2 separate regions of the Homo sapiens genome follow, and region 1 is linked to region 2. The links are contacts of gene promoters, found by promoter capture Hi-C in human tissues and cell types (Jung and others, 2019). All regions are on one chromosome and are shown on one strand. Each heading gives the region's core, a stretch centred on a gene start or on the middle of the fragment in contact. The rest is flanking DNA. Distances are from core to core; before and after follow the strand shown.

What was found. The method cuts DNA at HindIII sites, captures the fragments that hold promoters and counts their contacts. A contact is called where the count stands out against the background at its distance.
Region 1: the fragment with the promoter of RHBDL3 here is called in contact with the fragment with the promoter of NF1 in region 2 in 1 of the 25 tissues and cell types used here (pancreas).

Annotation. Positions count from the first base shown.
Region 1 is chr17:32,261,782-32,267,520 of GRCh38, forward strand. RHBDL3 (rhomboid like 3) reads left to right here and starts at 4,051. Exons shown (of 9, transcript NM_138328.3): 1 at 4,051-4,519. The coding sequence starts at 4,409. LOC105371731 (a long non-coding RNA gene) reads right to left here and starts at 3,670. Exons shown (of 3, transcript XR_934665.2): 1 at 3,484-3,670; 2 at 2,965-3,115. The HindIII fragment of the contact is 17,639 bases long and covers 1-5,739 here.
Region 2 is chr17:31,090,140-31,096,245 of GRCh38, forward strand. NF1 (neurofibromin 1) reads left to right here and starts at 4,838. Exons shown (of 58, transcript NM_001042492.3): 1 at 4,838-5,230. The coding sequence starts at 5,171. It overlaps MIR4733HG (MIR4733 host gene), which reads right to left and starts at 5,351. Exons shown (of 4, transcript NR_186435.1): 1 at 5,088-5,351; 2 at 3,234-3,352; 3 at 886-979; 4 at 603-796. MIR4733 (microRNA 4733) reads right to left here and starts at 4,286; the gene lies at 4,211-4,286. It overlaps LOC124903974 (a long non-coding RNA gene), which reads left to right and starts at 1,496. Exons shown (of 2, transcript XR_007065704.1): 1 at 1,496-1,568; 2 at 2,737-2,988. RefSeq lists a promoter at 4,418-4,843, cis regulatory regions at 4,451-4,690, 4,917-5,227, an enhancer at 4,831-4,848 and silencers at 5,083-5,152, 5,193-5,242. The HindIII fragment of the contact is 9,958 bases long and covers 1-6,106 here.

The sequences.
Region 1 (5,739 bases), core at 2,801-5,300, 1.2 Mb after region 2:
CTGTTTGCCCCCCTTCTGGGCATTGCCATTGCTTTGAGCAATAATTACAGCCCTTCATGTTTCTTCCCTGGCTTCTCATTAGCTCAAGGTGTCCACAAACAAACTGCTCAGCCCCCTTTGCCTTCCTCTCCCCGCTTCCAGCAGCTACTCCTGGCTTTTCCATGGCAGCCAACTGTCCCAGTTCCCAGGACCAGAACATCGGGTCCTTAAAAAAACTCCTTCCTCTCTTGGAGGGCACATTTGAGAGACTCAGCCCTGGAAAGGCTCTTCTCTCTCTCCTCCCCCTTATCCCACTGGACTGTCATTAGAGGATGACCTCATTTTCCCCCAGGAGGCCAGGGCCCGGGTCTCATCCCCTTTGTACTATCAGTACCTCGGCCAGGGTCTGGCACATAATGGACACTCAGCACGTGTGAGCTGAATGGCACTGCTGAGCTGTCGCCAACTTAATCTTCCTAAAATGCTGCTCCAGTTAGAAGCCATCACCGCTTCTCTATCTCCCACTGGGCGAGGTCCAACCTCCTCAGACTGGCACTCGGGGACTCTGGCGACACAGTGCTCCTCGCCTGCCCGGCCATCCTCACTTTGTGCTCAGCCACTTCATGGTTCCCAACACAGTCAACAGCTTTCCTATCTCTGTGTCTTTGCCGCAGCAGTTCCCTCCACCTAGAAACCCTTCCACGTTCTCTACCACAAGCTTGCCCCTTTCAAGGCTCATCTCAACATCATGCTCCTGCCCTTCTAAACCGAGTTTGATCCACCCTTCCCCAGCCCTTCATCCTGCTCTGCGTTGACTTCAAGTGTCTTGTTAGGAACCTTAAAAGAGGCCATGGTGTAGCGCACTTGCAAAATGAAGAGCAAGGAAGAAGTGCCAATAGGCCCAGTTCCGTGTCACTTCTCATTAGCGCCAAAGGTTCTCCCAGGGAGGGGCCTCTGCATGGCACACCTCCAGGCATCGACGAGTGCCTGCCTGCTGCAGCTGGTCAGTGAAAGTGACACCATGCCTACTCCCTCCTCTGCCCCCAAAATGCCACAGAATATGCCAGTCCTTAGGCTGTCTCAGGTGAGAGTAGAACAAAAGGTGTCAGGGTGCCTAGCCACTCCTATCCCCTGGAGCTTTCTAGGCCTGGACCCCAGGCCCCATGTCCTACTGCCTGCTCGGGAGTGGGTTGCAGATTCGCCTGGAGCTGAGGGGCAGAGTGGTCTGACCAGCTGGGCGTAGGTGACATTGAGGACAACAGGTAAAGGGTGGCCTCAGGCTCATGGAGGATGATGGATGTAACAACTTGTCCTAACAGTCTCCAAGTCCAGACACCATCACCTCCCAGCAAGGGCCAAGGTGAGAGAAGCTGCCCCGTGAAGCAAGAATCCTGGTGAGAGATCAGGAATTCCTTCTTAGGAGACTTTTGGAAACATAGCCTGCCAAGGCGGGGTAAATGTTCCTAGGGACAGAAGGAGGAACAAGATAGCCTTCTGGATGTTTCCCATCTTCCCTCTCCCTTTTATTCTAACTGCTGCCGCCCTTGTGACCTCTTCCTTGGACAGCACCTCTCATGGCCCTCTGCTCAGGCCAACCTCCCTCCTGTCTAGACTCTACACTACAGCCAAAGGGATCTTTTTTGTTTGTTTTGAGACGGAGTCTCACTCTGTCGCCCAGGCTGGAGTGCAGTGGCAGATCTCGGCTCACTGCAAGCTCCGCTTCCTGTGGTCAAGTGATTCTCCTGCCTTAGCCTCCCGAGTAGCTGGGATTACAGGCGCCCACCACCACGCCCGGCTAATTTTTTGTATTTTTTTAGTAGAGACAGGGTTTCAACGTGTTAGCCAGGACGGTCTCGATCTCCTGACCTCGTGATCCGCCCGCCTTGGTCTCCCAAAGTGCTGGGATTACAGCCGTGAGCCACCGCGCCTGGCCAGGGATCTTTTAAATATTACTCTACTGCTCACAATCCTTCAATGGCTCCCTATTGCCCTTAGGTAAAGTCCAAGCTCTTTTCCCATGAAACTCACAGCCCCTCACAACCTTCCCGTCCAGGCTGGGCTCTTTAGATTGGTCATCGTGCTCCAGTTTCCAGCCATGCCAAACTGCTTGTCGTTTGCCTCCCATATGATGCTGCTCCACAAGCCTGGTCGTGCTGTTCCCTCTACCTGGAACACCTCCTTCACCTTTTCCATGTTGCCTAGTTCTGGAGGCTTATCCTTTGGGAAGCCTTCCTGGACCCACAGCGACCCCCTCCTTTGGAGTTCTACACCTTCTGGGCTTCCCTTGAATCCAGGACTTACCCTTGTGTTGAATGTGACTGTCACCCCCAATTATCCATTTCTGGAGGGCAGGGTCTGGTTCTTATCCACCTCTGTATTCTCAAAGCTCTGTCATTGGTACTTAGTAGGAGCTTAATACATGTTCAGGAACAGAACTGAGCCTGCTAAGCTCCCTTCCCCACGAAGGGATGACAGAGTTGGATATGTTGATAAGAGCTGTCCCTGGGCTGATGAAGAGGCAGCTCCCTGGGTAGCTGGTATCAGAACACTGTCCAGGGTGGCTGGGCATCCCAGCAGAGTGGCCAACCCTTTTCTGTGCCCTTCTCCTTCCAGTTCCCCTGGAACCAGACTTCCTGGCCCACTTCTCTAGTCCCAGAGATCTAAGTATAACAGAGCCAACACCCATACCGGTCATGCAAATGACAGCCTGGGATGCGGGAGGCAGCGACACAGACCCCAGGGCCCCAGCGGTCATTTGTCCTTCTGGGCTCCTCTTCACAAAGGAATCAGCCTCTCTTCTGTCCCCTGAAGGCTGTTTTCAAAATCACACCCCATGCAGACAGTTTTATTTACAAGGAAATCTTGGCAGGATCTTGACTTGTTAGTAGAGTAGGGATGGGGAGGAGGGTGGTGAGAAACAAAAATAGTTGAAATGATCACACTTTCTGAAACAGAGATGAAAATTGGTGTCTGTAGCAAACTCACCTAATTAGAATCAAGTGAATTCCCTTCTCGGTGTTTAAGGGGAGCAGTCATTGCTGGGTGATGGTCGCAGTTCGGATCCTGGGCACGGGGTTATGTCTTTGCTTTCTGAAGATGACTGCATTAGTTGCAGCTCTCACTAATGGAAAGGAGCCTGTTCCGTTTCCCAGAGGAAGGAAGAGGGCAAAGACTAGTGAGTGAGTGGGTGGTGGGAAGAGGAAAGCAAGAGGAGTGGAAGGGCACAGCCTTGGTGTGGGCTGGGGACTGACTGCGAGATGCCTCCTGGAGAAGCTCCTGAGCCTCTGGGGAGAGCTGGCCCCTGCCAGGCCGGCCACTAGCACCATTTACAGCCAGAGCCTCTGCTTCGGGAGATGGTCTCTCTTGGGGGCGCTTTCCTGCAGGGAAACAGCATCGATTGTTTTCTTTAAAAGATCCCCTACTCCGTTTTGGCTAACTTCCTTTCTGATTGCTTTAGTTTCTTTACCGTCCCTCTCCCCAGATGGGGCATTTCCCTGGGCTTACCTTTGTCCATGTGGTCAAATGAAGCCTGGGCATGGTCACTTAGCTCTGGGTGTAGGAAGGGCAAGATTTAGGCTTTGGGGCCCACGACCCCGCAATCTGACTTCTCCCATTTCTGGGCCTCCCGAGACCTCCCAGAATCTGAGACCGCAGTGAATAGGGCGTAAGGATAATGGGGCGGGAGGCAGGAATCCCGTCCTTACAACATCGCGCCCCCAATTCACTCCTAGTTAACCCTGACGTCGCCAACATAGTGTCTCCATCACATATCTGCCACCTCCAAGTGATGGTTAAGCCGATGGAAGAGCCAAGCCCGGGCCCGGAGTGCAGGCCGGTGGTGACCGGGCCGGGGACGGCGCAGTCCCCATCCCCGCCCCGGGCAGCGCCACCACTTCCTCGCCAGCCCCGCCGCAGCCCTCCCGCTCCCGGGCCGCGCCGCTCTGACCGACTGGGCCCGGGTGGCGGCGCCCGGGGTGGGGTGCGGGGCGGGGGCCGGCGTTCCCCGCGAGCAGCCCCGCCCCCGCCCGCGCGCCGCCCCCGAGGACTCCGCGGGGAGGAGGAGACTCGGGCGCAGAGCGGGGGCCGCGAGAAGCGGGAAGGGAGCGCGGGGAGCGGCGGGGCCGGGGCCGGCCCAAGGGCGCCCTCGCCTCGGAGCCGGGCGCGAGGGCCGGGGCGGAGGCGGAGGCCGGCGGGGCAGCTAGCGCAGTGAAGTTTGGCGGCGGAGGGGCCGGGCGTCCCGGGGTCGCGAGGAGGCGGCGGCGGCGCGGGGACCGGGGCCATGGGGGCGGGCGCGGGCTGCGGAGCGGGCGCGGAGGCGGCGCGGCGCGCACTGAGCCCCTGGAGCGGCGCGGCCGCCGCGGCGCAAAGTTAGCCCGGCGCCCCGGGACGAGCCCCGCAGCCGCCGCCGCCCCCGGACCCCGTCTCGGCCATGGGCGAGCACCCCAGCCCGGGCCCCGCGGTGGCCGCCTGCGCCGAGGCGGAGCGCATCGAGGAGCTGGAACCCGAGGCCGAGGAGCGGCTGCCCGCGGCGCCGGAGGACGTGAGTGCCCCCTCCCCGCCCGGCAAACTTTCTAGGGGGCGCCGGGGGGAAAAGCCGCCCCTGTCTCGCCCCACGCCGGGCAACTTGGAGGTTTCAGGGTGACGCGGGAGCGCCCCGGATTGGCCGGGTCCCCGCGGGCAGGAGGGGGCGGAGGGACCGGTCTCCCCGAAACGCGCGCGCACCGCTTCCCCCGCTCTGGTTCCCGCGGCTTCCCTGCGGGACACAGCACCGCCACTGCGCCGCGGACCTGTCACCGCCGGAGCCCCCTCCCCGCCGCTGGTGCAGTGCCCGGGACACGGCGTTTTCCCGCAGAGGCGGCCGCGTCACGGCGGTGACTCCCCCTCCCCTCACGCCCGCGACCTGCGAGCTCCCGGAGCTGGGGAAGGAGCGGACGCCGCAGAGTCCCCGTCCCTGGCCATGCAAGCCGGCCTGGCGACCCCTTCCTCCGCTCCCGGATTAGCTCCCGCCCGGCACCTGCCTTGCCGCGACACTGATTGAAATTCAAGCCGGCCCCCGCCTCTGACCCCGGCCGGAGCAGGGAGGCAAAGAGTGCTGGGAGCGGCTTTGCTCCTAGAAGGAGGCCCGGGAGTCCAAGACCGTGGCGGTGCCAGGGGACGGTCCCCTGGGCGAGGAGAGGGAGGGGCTGCCCCGAGGGCTTCCCCGCCGTCTGCTGCTCGGGTCTCCATCCCTCCGGTCCTGCGGGCCGGCCCTGCGAAGCCCTGGGAACTGGAGTTTCTTGGGTTAACCTCCCGGGGCTAACCTACACATAGGGGTGAAAAACCGGGCAGACACCCTGCCCTGCCCACTCCTCCCTCAGGGTGGGGAGATGGAAGTGAAACCAGGCCCCCAACCCACACAACGAAAGCGGGAAAGTCTGAATGGGGTTGGGGGGTAGTTTACGATCTTCTCTCTTTGGCGTCTGCGGTTAAATCTATCACTTCCTTCTGGCCCTAAACCCCTGGCAGAATCTGATGTAGTCACCACTTAGACTCAGCCTTGGAAGAGAATGGGTGGGCTTCACCGCATTCGGCATTCACCACCCCCCCTTCCCCGCAAAAAAACAAAAAACGAACAAACAAACAAAAAACTGCAGGCAAAATGTTAGTGTTTATGCAGAGGTGAGTTCTCCTGGGGGGGGAGGGGGGGGCTCTAGCTCCCAGCAGGTGAGACTCATTGCGCCGGGGTCTGATGGAATTGCACCTGGCCATGCTCTCCCAGGC
Region 2 (6,106 bases), core at 3,588-6,087:
ATCAAGCAATCCTCCAGCTTCAGCCTCCTGAGTAGCTGAGATGACAGCTGCTCACCGCCATGTCCAGCAAATTTTTTTATTTTTTGTAAAGATACGATTTTACCATGTTGGTCAGGCTGGTCTTGAACTCTTGGGCTCACGCGATCCACCTGCCTCAGCTCCTAAAGTGCTGGGATTACAGGTCTGAGCCATGGTGTCCGGCCACACTCATGGATTTAATTGCCCTTGGAATCAACACCGTGCAGGAAAGGAGTAGGATTGAGCAGAAAAAGTTGAACTAAATGTAGTTACAGCAAATGCCTCAGCTTCCGGATCCTAAGGGAGCTCTGGTGCCAGGAGAGCCCTTCAGAGCAGCCCCACCCTGAGCCCTGCATCTGCCAGTCAGTGCAGACGGACCTGGTGAGAGGCAGCTTTCTTCAGCTGAAGGCAACTCCTGGAAAGGGATTTAGCTGATAGGTGTTGACAAGTAATGCGCCCAGCAGCTGAGGAAATGAGCACCTTAGTCCTGAAGAGTGGTGTGCTCTTTGGTATGCTGGGATGGTTGGTTGTGCCAGTGGAGATGGGGGTGGTGGGCAGAATGAAGGGAATACTACTGTAAAAGCTTTTTATTTTTTATTTATATTTATTCATTTATTTATTTTTTAAGACAAGGTCTAACTCTGATGCCCGGGCTGGAGTGCTGGAATGCAATGACACCATCACAGCTCACTGTAGCCTTGACCTCCTGGGCTCAAGCGATCCTCCCACTTCAGCTTCCCAAGTAACTGGAACCACAGGCACATGCCACCATGCCCAGCTAATTAAAAAAAAAAATTTTGTAGAGATGAGGTTTCGCCATGTTGCCCAGGGTGGTCTGGAACTCCTGGGCTCAAGTGATCCACCCACCTTGGCCTCCCAAAGTGCTGGGATGACAGGCATGAGCCACGGCTCCCAGCTTGGAACAAAACTCTTCGAAGAAAAAATTGGCAGAGCTTGTTGCCTGACCAAAAAACAGAGGCTGAATGAGAGAGATGCATTTAAAACAATACGAAACACTAAGGGTTCCCTGAATACTGTTGGACAGTGCAAAATGGGGGAAGTTAGGATACAAATCTAATTCTGTTCTACTGTAAGGCTCATGCCTTTTCACTAGACTAGTGCTGGTCAAACTGGTGTTCCATGGGCTACATTCAGACAGCAGACGTATTTTGTTTGGCTACACAGCATTTAAAAAATGTAAATTGGCTGCCACTATGTAAAAATTGGAAGAGTTTATATGTAAGTTCAGATCTCTAGCTTCTCTTGAGTAACTAGAAGATCTAGCAACACTGGGTCAACATTCCTGCATGGCAGTAACTGGAGTTGAGTGACAGATACTCTTTAAATGGAGAGAGTATCTCTTATCTGGATAAATGGAGGTGGGTATATGCTTCTTAATTCACCACAGTCTCTATGCATTACCTTCTTTGGCATTTTTTTTTTGAGATGGAGTCACTCTGTCGCCCAGGCTGGATTGCAGCAGCACAATCTAGGCTCACTGAAACCTCAGCCTCCTGGGTTCAAGCAATTCTCCTGCCTCAGTCACCCTAGTAAGTAGTTGGGATTACAGCCATGTGCCACCATGCCCGGCTTTTTTTTTTTTTTTTTTTTTTTTTTAGTAGAGATGGAGTTTCACCACATTGGCCAGGCTGGTCTCAAACTCCTGACCTCAGGTGATCTGCCTGCCTCGGCCTCCCAAAGTGCTGGGATTACAGGCATGAGCCACAGCGTCCAGTCTTCTTTGGCACTTTTGTTTAGCATTCCTGCCATATGTACTATGTATGGTCTAACAAAGTACATAATACATAACAGGCATTTGGGTACTTTTATTTTTATTTATTTTTTAGAGACAGGGTCTTGCTCTGTTGCCTAGGCTGGAGTGCAGTGGCGAGATCACAGCTCACTGCAGCCTTGACCTCTCTAGCTCAAGTGATCCTCCCACCTCAGCCTCCCAAGTTGCTGGGACCACAGATGCACACCACTATGCCTAACTAATTTAAATAATTTTTTTTGGTAGAAGCTGGGATCTCACTATGTTGCCCAGGCTGGTCTGAACTTCTAGGCTCAAGCAATCCTCCCACCTCGGCCTCTAAAAGTGCTGGCATTATAGGTGTGAGCCACCACGACCGGCCCATTTGGACACTTAATACTGGTTCAGCAGAACTGAATGAATTTAATTGGAGAGGAAGTTGGGGTGAAGTCTAGGCCTCTGACTATAATGAGAGGTTTGGCACTGAGGGGAGGCAACAGAACAGGGAGTACAAATTAGGATGAATTAATGACATGCTGGCAGGAGCTTGAGTAAAGGAAGAAGAGCAGAGGGCCAGGGCCTGAAGTTTGGGTGTCTTACCACAGAGCTAAAGAAGAGTGGGCAATGGTAGACTAAACTAGAGAAGAAGAGGAGAGAAAGGCACAGAGGAACTTCAGCAACGGAATGCCAGGGAAGGCAAGGGAGCTGAGGGTTTGGGCAGTTGCATCCAGTGTAGGGAAGAAGATCAGGGAGATAGACAGGCAAAAAGCCATGGCAACAAGGAAGTAGTTAGGGACTTTCAGAGGAAGTATGAGAAAAGGAGAGGAAGGTCATAGGTCTGAAGTTTAGCAGTGCAGTAGGGGGCACTGGAATACTATCTTGGGGGTATGAGTGAGTGCTTTTTCAGGGGTCCTACTTGGGAGAAACATAGATAGACATTCATTTAATATTCATCCATTTCTTTCCAGCATAGTCATCATTCTGACATCATCTAAAAGAAATTAGTATCTGCATTGCATCCTTAAAGAAGAAGGGACAAAAGACATGTCCAAACTGTCTGTCTGTTCTAGTGGAATAAAACATTAATTTAATATGTATTTTGGACAACCACCAACCTAGAGATTGGAAACTTTTCTCAAGGATATATCTCTCTGTATGTGGGCTACTGGCTTTGTGGCTTTTCTGTAGGAAAATTAAAATTCTAGTTTTGTTCTCCCTTATCACCCAGTGTCTGTGTGGCTTAACTGGCTGATTAGCGCGTGCTTGGAATGTGTAAATTCATTTTAACATTGGCCTAGGGGCCTGTGTGGTAGCTCACCCCTGTCATCCCAGCACTTTGGGAGGCCAAGGCAGGGGGATCACTTGAGGCCAGGAGTTCCAGACCAGCCTGGGCAACATAGCAAGACTGTGTCTCTACCAAAAAAAAAAAAAAAAAAAAAATTAGCCAAAGCAGGGTGACACTCACCTGTAGTCCCAGCTATTCAGGAGCTTGAGGTGGGAGGATCACTTCGGCCCAGGAGTCTGAGGCTGGAGTGAGCTATGATTGAGCCACTGCACTCCACTGCACAGAGTCAGACCTTGTCTCTGAAAAACAAAAACATTTGCCTAGGTAAAATGTATCGAGGAAGACAAATTTTAAAATTACTCATTCCAGGCCAGGTGCGGTGGCTCACACCTGTAATCCCAGTACTTTGGGAGGCTGAGGTGGGCGGATCATGAGGTCAGGAGTTCAAGACCAGCCTGGCCAATATGGTGAAACACCGTCTCTACTAAAAATACAAAAATTAGCCGGCTGTGGTGGCGCATGCCTGTAGTCCCAGCTACTCGGGAGGCTGAGGCAGAAGAATCACTTCAACCGGGAGGCGGAGGTTGCAGTGAGCCGAGATCGCGCCTCTGCACTCCAGCCTGGGTGACAGGGTGAGACTCTGTCTTAAAAAAAAAAAAAAAAAATTAGTCATTCCAAAGTCCAATGTCAGACATAGATTATCCGTTGTTTTGGATGTAATCCTCTTCCTGGAAAACTGGCACAACCCAATTACACATGAAATCCTTTCAACTCTGGTATTGGAGGTATAGGGAAGGACTTTGTTTTAGGAGACCCATAGTCTACCTCTATTGTTCTAGGAGTTAAACCACGTTGGTTTACATCCTGACTTTGCCACCTGTCAACTCAGACCTTGGGCAAATCAAAGGTCTGAGGGAGGAGTGCAGGCTCCCAGCGTTCCCACGGGGGTGGGGACGTGACGTATTCATCAGTTCATGAAGTTAATGATATGTATTGAAAAGGTTTGTTCAAGGATTTAAATAAGACGATGAATATATTGAATTAATAATGAATGCAAGGCCTTAAAGGTGTTTTGAGGGTGGTGAAACTTGAATCTCTCATCAACTGTGCAATAGTTATATTAACTTGGATGGCTATGAGTTTTGCAGAGGAAAGCTGGGCTTAAATCCCAATGCTAGACCTGGTGGCTAGACCTTGATTGCCACCGGGTCTAGCATTGGGATTTAAGCGACCTCTAAAAAAAAAAAATCACGGAATCTCTCTTTGGCCTTCCTTTTTTGTTTCTCAGCAGTCTACCAAGCTACGAAGAACCTGAAAATCGGAGGTCGTGTACCTTATTTTTTCTGAGAGCTTAAGCTGAGAGCACAGCCTCCCCAGGAGATTAGCGGCAGAGATCCGCGCGCTGGGAGAAAGGCTAGCCCCAGGGCGCCCTAACTTCCAACTCCGGGAGCAATCCAAACCCGGAGGCCGGCGGGGGAGGGGACAGCTGTAGGGGGCGGTGGGGATGGGAGTGGATGCTCCCGGGTCAGCTCTGGCACTCGCCAGCTGAGCCCAGCGCCAGTCTAGGTGAGCCCCACGGCGGTGAGGGACGCTCGCCAGACGGCCCAGAGGAGTTAGATGACGTCACCTCCAGGAGGACTCGCTTTTTCATTAATGAAACCGGCCGGCGCGGGCGCATGCGCGGCAGGCCGCCTTCCCTCTCGCTTCCCCCTCCCCTTTCCCAGCCGCGCTCTCAATCTCTAGCTCGCTCGCGCTCCCTCTCCCCGGGCCGTGGAAAGGATCCCACTTCCGGTGGGGTGTCATGGCGGCGTCTCGGACTGTGATGGCTGTGGGGAGACGGCGCTAGTGGGGAGAGCGACCAAGAGGCCCCCTCCCCTCCCCGGGTCCCCTTCCCCTATCCCCCTCCCCCCAGCCTCCTTGCCAACGCCCCCTTTCCCTCTCCCCCTCCCGCTCGGCGCTGACCCCCCATCCCCACCCCCGTGGGAACACTGGGAGCCTGCACTCCACAGACCCTCTCCTTGCCTCTTCCCTCACCTCAGCCTCCGCTCCCCGCCCTCTTCCCGGCCCAGGGCGCCGGCCCACCCTTCCCTCCGCCGCCCCCCGGCCGCGGGGAGGACATGGCCGCGCACAGGCCGGTGGAATGGGTCCAGGCCGTGGTCAGCCGCTTCGACGAGCAGGTAACCGGCCCGTGGCGGGCGGGAGGTGGGAGCGGAGTGGGGGTGGGGACAGAGTAGGTGAGGGGAGGTAGGAGCGGCCGCCTCCCCCGCGGCTGCCTCAGGCTCTGGAGGAAAGGAAGGGAAGGGAAGAGAAGGGAAGGGGGGATAAGTGGGGGTGGCCAAGGCGGGAGGTGAGGGGTAGGAGGGGACAGCTGGGAGCTTGGGCACCCTTTCCCTCCTAAGTCGGGGGGTGGGGCCTTGTCCCTGACCAGCCTCCGACCCTCCATCCCCTTTATCCCAGCCCTTCCGCTTGGAAATGGGGATGAGTGACCTGGGGGCGCCTTTAGGGGCGCGCCATCTGGATTTAATAATTACCCCCTTACTTTTGTTTTTGAGCAGAGGTGGGTAACGTTTAGGGGTTCTCTCTTCCTCTTCCCTCCGTGACCCTCCTAACTGGGGACGAGCGAACCCTAAGGCCTGTCTTATATACCCTCAATAGGAGAACGATAACATTCCGCCCCTCCCCCAGTTTCTTCAGCTTCCTCTCCTGGAGGGGGAAGAGCAGAAGAAAGCAAGGAAGGCACAGGTTTTCTTACTTTCTGCTCCATCGTCTCATCCTGCCCCGAGAGCTTCAAGTGCACACTCACTGCACATCTTTGTGATGCCCTACAACGTCGTCCCCCATATCCTGATGACACAGACTGCCTTTTTTTTTTATTGCCGTTTGCAGTGGAAACCGTGGTTCTGAAATATCTTCCCCTTCCTTGATAATTGCAGTCTCTTCCCCCCCCCCTTTTTTTTTTGCCAGCGGTCTGAGGATGTGATGCATTCTCGAGTGAGAATGTTGGGGAGTAAAGGGGAGAAGGGTGAAAGGAAAGTGAGAAACTGCTTCAGAGC